Linked DNA regions of Homo sapiens: region 2 is linked to region 1. Evidence: promoter capture Hi-C in 16 types of primary human blood cells and fetal thymus (Javierre and others, 2016). All regions are on one chromosome and are shown on one strand. The core of a region is centred on a gene start or on the middle of the fragment in contact, and the rest is flanking DNA. Distances in the headings are between cores, read along the strand shown.

What was found. The method cuts DNA at HindIII sites, captures the fragments that hold promoters and counts their contacts. A CHiCAGO score of 5 or more calls a contact.
Region 2: a contact is called between a fragment that was not itself captured here and the fragment with the promoter of MSTN in region 1, in 5 of 17 cell types (M1 macrophages, naive B cells, total B cells and 2 more). The highest score is 7.5, in M1 macrophages.

What each region holds. Positions count from the first base shown.
Region 1 is chr2:190,058,904-190,065,064 of GRCh38, reverse strand. MSTN (myostatin) reads left to right here and starts at 2,336. Exons shown (of 3, transcript NM_005259.3): 1 at 2,336-2,841; 2 at 4,630-5,003. The coding sequence starts at 2,469. It also overlaps a transcript of AKAP19 not described here. The HindIII fragment of the contact is 9,340 bases long and covers 1-3,269 here.
Region 2 is chr2:189,809,226-189,815,386 of GRCh38, reverse strand. The region is part of intron 4 of PMS1 (PMS1 homolog 1, mismatch repair system component); the gene reads right to left. Among named protein-coding and RNA genes, the nearest start is that of PMS1, 28 kb to the right of the region's middle. The HindIII fragment of the contact is 6,338 bases long and covers 105-6,161 here.

The sequences.
Region 1 (6,161 bases), core at 1,087-3,586:
GGAACCCTGCCTTGTTTGACCTCATCTGGGAACCTGTGCGTCAGATAGGACTCAAATTTTTTGCCGCTCTGTGAATGCCAGCGAATGACTGAAAAATGCTAGGAATATTGAGTTTCATAGATAAATTTTAGCAAGTAGGCAAATTTGTGAATACAGAAATCATGAATAATAAGAATTGTCTGTTAGCGGAAATGACAACCTTTGTTCACTTTTTTCCAGGTGATAAGAATAAAGAGCTGGAACATGTCTTGTAACCTGGCTGCCTTAGAAAATTTTACTTGCCTCACAGGCCTAGAAAGTAGGCTTTGTGACTGATAATTGGCAGCTATGACCTGAAGCAGTTCTAGTTCATGTGGAGCATAATTTTAAGCATAATCTCAAACCCTTCTGCATAAAACAAAGAGCAAGCACTCAAATGCCAGTTATCAATTACTTACTATATGACAGGTGCCATATTCAGCAATTTACATGCATTATTAAATTATATCCCCCCAAAACCCTATGAGGAAGCTAAAGTTTAGGGAAGTTAAGTATCTCATCCATTATCACATAGTTAGAAGTGGCAAAGTTGAGATTTGAACTCAGGTCTATCTGACTCCAGAGCCTGAGTTCTCAATTCAACTGCTATACAATTCTAAGCATATTAAAAAAAAAGTTTGACTTACTTGGAACTGTATAGATGCATGTGTTACAATGATCATAACATTTGAAAGATTTACACATTGAAAAATGAATTTACCAAACAAATAAAACCTTAGAAGCCAGATCTAATATTGTCCCATAACAAAGAGTATCTGAAATCCTCAGGGCATCTGGTTTGTGTCTGGTTTTCCTTAATCTTTAATGATGAGCAAATCCAATGCATTATGTAAGGCCATTTTTTTCTCAAGAGATGTAGATACCTCTTAAGAATTTGATGAAAATGCATTAACTTTTCAGGCTACTGAGTTGCATTTTAGTGCACCGAGGCAGTAAATTAGTGTACAGTGTGCAAAAATGGTAGTGACTTTAAAAATAAATATTTGATATGAGCCACTGTATTCTCTTGGAAAAAAAAAGTAATGGACTAAATCTCTTAGGAATCCTTAGCTTCCCAAAAAGGAGTAGGAAAAAGAAATCTCCTTTGGCCTAGAAATATCTTCTGTTTCTTGCTGGCTATGTTTGCTTAGCTCTTTAATAGTTCATTTGACTAGATCTTGTGGCTCCCAAAGCTAAGGTTGAACGTTTGATCCCTACAGAGGCCACTTAAATTTAGAGAACAAAAAGCTCTATTCTCTGCTCCCAGACTTTACCCCAAATCCCTGCCAGGTGTCTGCCCTCTGGTCAAAATGAGAAATTGGCAAAGGGGTGCAAACATATCGCAGTATTGGGAAACAACAAAAGGTCACCCCTTTATCATGATGCTCTTTCTCTTTTATGTGCTCATAATATTCTGATATAATTTATAGAGAATAGATACTGCACTTTTTACTCTCTGGATATTTACTGCTGGAAATCTGAGGCAAACTGTAATAATCTCTGCCATGCCAGTTATAAAATTCATTATCTTAGTCTATGTTCAGAGATTTTTCTACTAGCTGGCATTACCCTCTTGGTAATAAACAATGAAAAACACATCTTCTGAGTTATGTTAATCTGCATCTTTAGAATAGGAAATAATAGCACTCAGTCAAAAGTTCAGTATAATTTTCATATTAATAAAAGACATGAAACTATGTAAAAATAATTCCATGCACAATATGTTATAATAACAATGACTTCCAATATTTACTAAGAATTTAGTCAGAAAACAAGTTTCTCAAATTATAGATGAAAATTCTCAACTAGTATCATAATCTTAACTTTTAATTCAGGTCTTCCTAATTTTTATTTTCCTAATTACTTGGCACTAAAAATAATTTAATACAACAAATAAAAATATTTTCTACTTCAAATACTTGCCTAAACAATATAAAATCATTTTAGTTTTTGAGGAAGTAATATTTCATATTTTAAATATGTAGTATAAATTAAAATTGACTTATTTAAATTACAATAAGAGTTGTGTGAGGATTAGTAAGATTTAAGTACAGTTTATATTATTGCCAACATAGACTTTTGTTTTTCAAATGTCACAAATATCTTTTATTATTTGTAGATTTATTTCTTTTATGAAGTAGTCAAATGAATCAGCTCACCCTTGACTGTAACAAAATACTGCTTGGTGACTTGGGACAGACAGGGTTTTAACCTCTGACAGCGAGATTCATTGTGGAGCAAGAGCCAATCATAGATCCTGACGACACTTGTCTCATCTAAGTTGGAATATAAAAAGCCACTTGGAATACAGTATAAAAGATTCACTGGTGTGGCAAGTTGTCTCTCAGACTGTACATGCATTAAAATTTTGCTTGGCATTACTCAAAAGCAAAAGAAAAGTAAAAGGAAGAAACAAGAACAAGAAAAAAGATTATATTGATTTTAAAATCATGCAAAAACTGCAACTCTGTGTTTATATTTACCTGTTTATGCTGATTGTTGCTGGTCCAGTGGATCTAAATGAGAACAGTGAGCAAAAAGAAAATGTGGAAAAAGAGGGGCTGTGTAATGCATGTACTTGGAGACAAAACACTAAATCTTCAAGAATAGAAGCCATTAAGATACAAATCCTCAGTAAACTTCGTCTGGAAACAGCTCCTAACATCAGCAAAGATGTTATAAGACAACTTTTACCCAAAGCTCCTCCACTCCGGGAACTGATTGATCAGTATGATGTCCAGAGGGATGACAGCAGCGATGGCTCTTTGGAAGATGACGATTATCACGCTACAACGGAAACAATCATTACCATGCCTACAGAGTGTAAGTAGTCCTATTAGTGTATATCAACAGTTCTGCTGACTGTTGTTCTAGTGTTTATGAGAAACAGATCTATTTTCAGGCTCTTTTAAACAAGCTGTTGGCCTGTATGTAAGTAGAAAGGAAAAGAGTTTCTCTTTTTCAAGATTGCATGAGAATATATTAATGAGACAAAAATCTGCTGCATTATTTGTTTTCTTATAGAGACAAAAAACTAAAAAATAAAGTACTTGCATAGCATTAATTTAATAAGGCAAATATAGATAGCATGCTTATGCTTTCACAATAATACCACCAAGGCAAGGACTGGGAGATACTACAAGCAGTGTTTAAAACTTACATTAGATTTTAGAATTGTATTTAGTTGTGTAAAATAAGTTTTTTTCACTAATAACAGAAAAAAAAAAAGAAACTTGCTGGATGTTTAAGCTTACTTGAGCACTGCTGAAAACCTCAAGTGATTTCTGTTATTTGAAACTCTCTCAGTAATTTTTTTGTTCTTCACAGTTAAAAATTTAATTTTGAGAGCTATTACACTGAAGAATATGCAAAAATTAAATATCTTAATGTGTTAGTAAGAACAATAATGAAGTAAACATAGCATAATAATCATCATGAACTAAATATTAGAAAATGCCTAAGAAATAAACATTTTAATTGGGTAGGTTATGGCTCACAAAGTCCTCCTTGTACCTTGACCATAGTACTATTATTGAGAGTACCCAGTTTGTGTACTTCCAAGCAGGCACAGTGCTTAATAACCTTCTAAAATATTTTATTCTTCCTGAGAGGGAGGGCTTTTACCTGTAGTATCTACACTGCTTCTGACAGATAACATATTTCATACAATTCCTTTTGCAGTCAGCTCAAAAGAATACTTTCTCCAGGAAAGAGAAACAGGCACCTTGACAGAGAAGGCATGGCAAGAAAAATTTTGTGTTACCTGTTATCTTGCTTTAATACAATGCTTTATATACTTTAAACAAGACTCCAAACAGTTTTAAAATATTATTTCCCTTATTAAGTAATCAGGTTACAATGCAGCAAAGAATTTCCATTTAAGACTCTGCTATCAAATAGGTCTGGAGCAGATTTACCTTTTATAGACAATTTTGGAAAACCAAAATAAAAGAAATTGTTAGTGCTTGTGCTTACATGACAGCCTGGCCCTAAAGACAATACTTTCGAACTTTTCAGATAGCCTGAATATAACATCAAAATTTTTGTGTTAATTATCTGCTTAGTTTTGCTCCTTTAAAAGGTTATTCCAAAGCCAAAATGTAACAGATGTACTGTGTTTTCTACTAATTCCTGAGGCTCAGTAAGTTGCTCAGTGTGTCTTGTCCCCAGGTAATTCAGGCCTGGGGGAAGGGTTCCTTCTTCCAGACTGATTGGTACAGCTGCTCAGTAAGTGTAACTACTCAGATTCCCAAAGAATTCTAAGTGGTTGTTCCTCCACAGTGTCTCTTGTTCTCTCTAATCATCATCATTTTAAAATTTCATTCAGCGTTCATTACTTCATAGAACCTTCCTTTGTCCATAGTTCTCTGGAAGGGGAATAGATTCCTGATGAACAGCTGAAAATACATACGTCTGAAAAATTCTGAAAAGCTAGGGTAATTATTTTCTTTGACATTTTTTTGAGTTATAAAGTTCCACACGGTATTTCATTTTAAAAGACTGCATAGGCATACATTATCTTAATTTAAAAAAATGCTCAACTATTAATATGGAGGGGTTTTGTTAATGGGAAATAATTTCAGCAACTTTTCTTTTCTTATTCATTTATAGCTGATTTTCTAATGCAAGTGGATGGAAAACCCAAATGTTGCTTCTTTAAATTTAGCTCTAAAATACAATACAATAAAGTAGTAAAGGCCCAACTATGGATATATTTGAGACCCGTCGAGACTCCTACAACAGTGTTTGTGCAAATCCTGAGACTCATCAAACCTATGAAAGACGGTACAAGGTATACTGGAATCCGATCTCTGAAACTTGACATGAACCCAGGCACTGGTATTTGGCAGAGCATTGATGTGAAGACAGTGTTGCAAAATTGGCTCAAACAACCTGAATCCAACTTAGGCATTGAAATAAAAGCTTTAGATGAGAATGGTCATGATCTTGCTGTAACCTTCCCAGGACCAGGAGAAGATGGGCTGGTAAGTGATAACTGAAAATAACATTATAATAACCTTATGTTTTTATTCATAATATGAACAAACAATAGTGGAAAATAGCTACAAATTCCCTAAGCTCATAAGCTAGACAAAGGTATCTTACCCCAACGGTAGCCCTGTACCCAATAAAAGTAGGTGTCCAATTTCATATCCTATGAAACACTCCCTTGATACTCTTACTTTGCATCAAGATTTTAGAAAACAATTATACCATACTTCTTAACTTCTTAAGAAGTCCTTTTGAATTGGGAATGAAATATAAAGTGCTTTTCATTAATATGATACATGACTGTATGTATTAAAATATTAACTCTATATAGTGGATTTTACCACATAAACCAACAAATCCAAACATTATTTTTTTCTCCCAGAAGGGTGCCAAATGTGTTAAAGATTTTTGGCTTAGCATAAAACAGATAAACCTTTTAAAATTATAATTAAATGTTTTATTCAGAGAAATTAAGAGTGATATTTATAGGCTTATACTTTATTAAATATATTTAAGGTTTCTCAAGATAAATATGTTCATTATTTGTAGGATGTTGATGCACTGATGTGTGTATATATTTCTTTGTGGAATACTCCTAATAAAATTTCAAGTTACATACTAGTTAACCTTTGCCACCTAGCTTATTTCTGAGCTGCCTTAGCATTCTTGTGCAAAAATTTACTCAGGGAAGGCCGACTAATTTAGTACCAGGCCAAGTAAATGACAATACCTTATATATCACAAAAATTAATAAAAACCATTTTAATTCCTAGTACAAATTTAGGGTTACTCTTCTGGCTTACCTAAATTTCTGTTTTCAAATACTTAATGTGATCACATCTTTTTACGTTCATCTATTGATATAATTTACAAAAGAAGATTATACTTGTAAACAACAAACCTGTTACCTTTGTAATCATTCAATGATCTTAGTTATAAAGATGATATAATTAGCAGATCAGATCTACTCTAAATAAAACATTCTTTAAAATACTATACAATATTTTTTCATTTTTATTACTTTATTATATATATGTGTATATATATATTTATACACACACACACATGTTTTACTTCAATATGTTGGGGGGTACAAGTGGTTTCTGGCTACATAGATGAATTGTACAGTGGTGAAGTCTGAGGTTTTAGTG
Region 2 (6,161 bases), core at 2,024-4,523, 250 kb after region 1:
AACACATGGAGATTACAATTCGAGATGAGATTTGGGTGGGGACACAGAGCCAAACCATATCAGTAACACTGGTTAACTGGAGAAAAGGGGTGGGAATTAAAGCTTACACTGTCCTACACAACCTGTTCCATGGCTATCTTCTCTCCTACCGATGTCCTTCCTTCTGTTCCTAGAGGACATCAGAATTGTTTCCACCTCAGACCCTTTGTACATGTTCTTCTGTCAACCTTTCCACAGCTAACTCTTTCAGATCTCAGCTTGAGTATCATATCTTTTTTTTTTTTTTTTTTGAGATGGAGTCTCTCTGTTGCCCAGGCTGGAGTGCAGTGGCATGATCTCGGCTCACTGCAAGCTCCGCCTCCTAGGTTCATGCCATTCTCCTGCTTCAGATTCCTGAGTAGCTGGGACTACAGGAACCTGCCAGCCCGCCTGGCTAATTTTTTGTATTTTTTTGGTAGAGACGGGGTTTCACCATGTTAGCCAGGATGGTCTCGATCTCCTGACCTCGTGATCTGCCCACCTTGGCCTCCCAAAGTGCTGGGATTACAGGCGTCAGCCACAGCGCCTGGCCCAGAGTATCGTATGTTTTGAAAATCCATCCTTAAATGCCCTATCCAAGGCTGCTGCTTCTACAGTGGAACTATGTTTTCTTTCTTTTTAGAAAATGTCACTACTTGAAAAAACTTTTGTCTGCCTCGCCTCTTAGAATACAAGTATGAGAGCAAAGAACTACCATGTTTGCCATTATATCCCTAGCACCTTAAACAACAATGAATAATCTGTAGGCATTTAACAAAAAAGTCTTAAATGAATACTTAAAGAAAATAAGAGAAAGTAATAAAGTTTGTATTTGTCTGAATTATTTATTTATGGAAGACACATAGTACTTGCAATTTTTGAAAGGAAATTTACTATAAGAGAAAAATAAAAGAAGATTGGGGGGAAAAGATTTTTGTGGAAAAAGACTAAAGGAAGTGCAATATTCCTATTTTGCTCACACTTGATGTTTTTCTGCTTTTTTCTTGATCTGGTGCCTCATTAGCATATAACATTACTAATGATTTTTTTTTGGGGGGGGGTCTTCCTCTATTTTTATATAGAGCATTTCCTTGGCTTACCTGCATACATCACTTCCAGAGGCAGGATTAAATTCCTTGGAACACCATGTTCTAACATGGTGAGAACACATAGTTCTCACTAGTAACACTTTGGTGCTACTATTCTTTGGCGCTACTATTCTTTGGCTTAGGAAAGTAAAAAGGTCACTGCCAAATTTTGGAGCAAAAGCTGATGGAGATCAAGAAATGCATGCATTTAGCAGTCAGAGCAGGTATGCATTCTGCCTCTACTGCTAAATGGAAAATACACACACACCAGAATCTATACCAGATCCTATTCACAGAGACCTCACTTCATTCTTTGTTCCCCTAGATGTTTCCTCCATTCCCATGTCTTCAACTACTACCTATATGCCAATGATTCTTTTCATGGAAGTTGTAAGCAGCACCATACTTTTATAAATCTCTAAAAAAGAAAAAAACACTTCCAATTAAACTATGATACACTGCCTTAACAACAGTCCCGTGTAACACATGAAATGGACACATCAGCCTCTCATTCCTTTGAAATTTCTTTACTCCCATGAATATGGCAATTTCTTCTGGTGCCATCAATTTCAATGCTTTGCATATGACAGCAATCCTTTGGCACTTAATGCAGCTTCATTTAGTTGTGACTATTTCCCTTTTTAACTCTCATAAAGCAATTGTTGCAATAAAATATGAAGTTGTTTATTCCTCCAATCAACACATGAATTATTAATATTGCACAAAATTCAATTGATACAACAATAAGAACATCCAAAACTGCTGCTTTTCCAAAAAGGATTTTGGGAGGCCATTAATTATAAGCCACAATCTGTTTCCAGGGACGTCAAGTGTGACAAAATGTGCATCTTAGAATTGGTTAACTAAGACACATATCTGAGACCTACACTACTCTTTTAAGTTTTATAGACAGATGCTCACTCATTAACTCCACCTGGCTATCCTCAAGGTATATGAAATCGACCACACTCAGGCTGGAACTCATTATCTTCTTCCTTGGGTTTGATACTACACCTAACCTTCCTTTCTCATATAACACCAACATCCAATGGTTTCCAAAGGCAGATACTACAGAAAGAATTGATTCTTCCCTCTACTTCTTACTGCAATATTGCATAAGTCTTATAGGTCTATCTATTCTATCCTAGGAGTCTCTCCAATTTATGTCAAGTCCTTTCCCTCCCCTCAAACCCTAGTAGTTGAAGACAGTATCTTACAGTAAGACAAAATTTATAGTAGAAATTACCAGTTAATCTTGTAAATAACATATTAATCCTACTAGTTAATTTTGTAAATAACATGATATCAATCGTCTGCCTAAAATAAATTCCAGTGGCTCATAATGGTAAGGTACAAACTACCTGGTATGATATAAAAGGCCCTTCATAATCTAACACCTACGCTACCACTTTCTAAGCTAAACCTCCTGCTTCTACTACTCCAAAATCCTTACACTGAATTCTGTCATGTCATTCTCAGTACTCCATTTTATATGCTTTAATTGGCTTTTTAGCTATATAACTTTGTATTACTTTCAGTGAGTATAACATATATTCTTAAATTATCAGTTTACCTTGATTACCATGAAATAAATTATATTTCACAATGTAACAACTTTGTAATAGTGTACCTCATTTACTCTTACCTTTTGTAAAGTTTTTGTCATGCGTTTTACTTTTCTGTGTGATAAACTCCACAATATACTGATTTTGTTTTTGTAAAATAAGTTTTTAAAATACTCGTCTTTCCATTTTTTCCACACATTTTCTAGTGCTTTTCTTTCCTTCTTGCAGATTCAGGTTGCCATGTAGAATCATTTTCCTTCAGCTTAAAAACCCTGTTAGTATTTCTTGTAGTGCATGGTGGGAGATTCTCTGTTTTATTTGTATGAAATTGCCTTCACTTTGTACTCATTCTTTAAACATTTTTACTGGTTATAGAAGTCTAAATCAAATTTTGTTTGTCTTTTTGTTTTGTTTCATTTGAGAGTCTAATTCTGTCACCCAGGCTGGAGTACAGTGGCGTGATCTCGGCTAACTGCAACCTCCGCCTCCTGGGTTCAAGCAATTCTCCTGCCTCACCCTCCCGAGTAGCTGGGATTACAGGTATGCACCACCACACCCAGATAATTTTCGTATTTTTAGTAGAAACAGGGTTTCGCCATGTTGGCCAGGCTGGTCTTGAACTCCTGACCTCAGATGATCCACCTGCCTCGGTCTCCCAAAGTGCTGGGATTACAGGCGTGAGCCACCGCACCCGCCTGTAATTTTAAATTTAAAAACTTAAAAGATGTCATTCCATTTTCTTTGGACTTCTATGTTTCCAATGGGAAGTCAGCTGTCATTATTTTTATTGTTCCTCTGAATTCAATGTATTTTCTCCTCTGGCTGCTTTTAATATTTCATGAAAGCTGTAAATAGCGCCACACTTTTATGAATCTCTAAAAAAGAAAAAACACTTCCAATTAAAGTATAATACACTGCCTTAACAACACTCCTGTCCAACACATTACTGGTTTTCGGTAATTCAATTATGATGTAGTTAGCTGTGGTTCTGTTTATTTTTTTTCCACTTGGTTCTGTTCACTCTTTGGTATGTGGCTTTGTATCTTTTCAAAAATCTTGAAACATTCTCAGACATTTTCTTTTTTCAATCTTAATTATGTTATTAGTTTTTTTTGTTGTTGAAGACAAGAGTCTCACTCTGTTGCCCAGGCTAGAGTGTATGGCACAATCTTGGCTCCCTGCAACCTCTAATTCCTGGGTTCAAGAGATTCTCCTGCCTCAGCCACCTAAGTAGCCAGGATTACAGGCATGCGCCAAAACACAAAAAAATTGGGTAATTTTTGTATTTTTGGTAGAGATGGGGTTTAACCATTTTGGCCAGGCTGGTCTTAAACTCCTGACTTCAAGTGATCTGCCCACCTTGGCCTCCCAAAGTGCTAGGATTACAGGTGTGAGCCACCGTGCCCAGCCCTCAGACTTTTTTTTTTTTTTTTTCAGATTTTGTTCTGCCCCATTCTCTCTCCTGAGATTCCAGTCACAGGCATGTTAGACCATTTAATGTTGCCCCACAGGTCTCTGATGCTCTTTTCTCATTCTACTTCCGTGCTTCTGTTTGCATATTATTTTTACTGACCTGACTCCAATAAGTCCAACCAATTAATTCTTCATAGTACTTTTTGTTCTAGAATTTTCATTTAGTTTTTTAGTTTCCATTTCTCTGCTGAAATTTGCTACCTTCTTACCAGTTTTGACCATCTTTTCTTCTAAATTCTTTAACATAAGTTTTTTTTTTTTTGTCTGTTAATTCAAACATCTGGGTTATTGATGAGTTTATTTACACTATTGTTTCTCTTGATTACGGATCCCATTTTCCTCTCCTCAAGTCTCTCAAAATTTTTATTTTTGCTAAACATTGAATATAAAAGGATACTAAAGAAGAAAATATTTTCTCCCAGAGAAAGTGCTTTGTTTCCTGCCAAGAGTAGAGTGAAGAATATATCTCTTCAATCTAACTAGGAGTTTATCTGAGTTGAACCTTTTAGTTCCAGTTCAAATGTCTTTGGTTTCAAATGTCTTGAAGATGGAATCAGGTCTCTTTCTCTAGCAAGGTTTTAAGATCCTTCTTTCTCTAGCTCAGTCCCAATTTTCTTAATCACTTTTTACTCAACAAAAGTCCTGCTGAGATTCAGTGTGGGGGTTGGACTAGCTCTGTTTGAGGATCCCATATTCTAATCTGTCATGTCTGCCCACAAGTGGCTATAAAAGTTCAGCTGGTTTCTCCTTGTACCATAAAAGCTCCCTTATTTGTAGAAGACTTGTTCCTTTATCTACCTATGACTCAGTTAATGCTCCCAGGGATGCAAATGGCCACCAGGCACTTCTTTTCTAGGAGGATGTAGTGTTTCTCTTGAGCTTTGTTCATTTAAACTTCTCTGTGACACAGGTCTTCAATGAGTTTAAAGACTACAAGTTTTTAAAATTATGTTTTTTCCCCTCATTGCTACGCAGATAGCAATGGTCTCTTGAAAATCTGTATCCATCATTTTTCTCTTGCCGAAAGGTTACACTCCATGTCTTCTTATCTATCATCTTCAAACTCCTACCATCTTCAAACTCAAACGTCATCTTTTCTGAAAAACTTGCTAACCTCTCTCTAGGCAGTCAGTGGCTTCATTTTGTCATTATTCACTCACCTGTGTTCCCCACTAGTCAGTAAGTTCCTAGATGACAAATATAATGGCATGCACTGTAGCTCTAGACAGAAGGAAGACAGAAATCAAGAGGGCAAAATATAAATGTGTATATGAAAGTAAAAAGAGATACCTGTTGATTTTTAAATATATGTATCTAAGACCACATTATACCTAATCTGTATATTGATAAATTATTGCTTCAGCACCTCAAAATATCCTCTGAAAGTAAAATGAGAATTATCATTATTTTGAGATGGAGTTTCACTCTTGTTGCCCAGGCTGGAGTGCAATGGCACAATCTCGGCTCACTGCAACCTCCGCCTCCTGGGTTCATGCAATTCTCCTGCCTCAGTGGGATTACAGGTGCCCGCCCCCATGCCTGGCTAATTTTTTGTATTTTTAGGAGAGACAGGGTTTCACCTTGTTGGCCAGGCAGGTCTTGAACTCCTGACCTCAAGATCTGCCTGCCTTGGCCTCCTAAAGTGCTGGGATTACAGGCGTGAGCCACTGTGCCCAGCCAATTGAGATTAATAAGAATTATATGTTTGAATAAAACATACTTATGGAAAAGTCTTTTCTGATTCCAAATGAACCCTGTCTCAAAAAGCAAAAAAAAAAAAAAAAAAAAAAAAAAAGAAATGTGCTTCCTTAAAAGCACCAAGTAATATTGGCCAATAATAGGGAGGAGGCCCCATTATACTATCATGTTTTACAAGAAAATCATTCAGCTCTCTAACTTTAGCACATCCTACAAACACCAGAATTAAACTGCAGTGTTGTAATATGCTCCCTGTTATATTTTTACATGACCCTATGGTATGCCATTTATTATAATGGCAGCTATTTATATTCCTAAT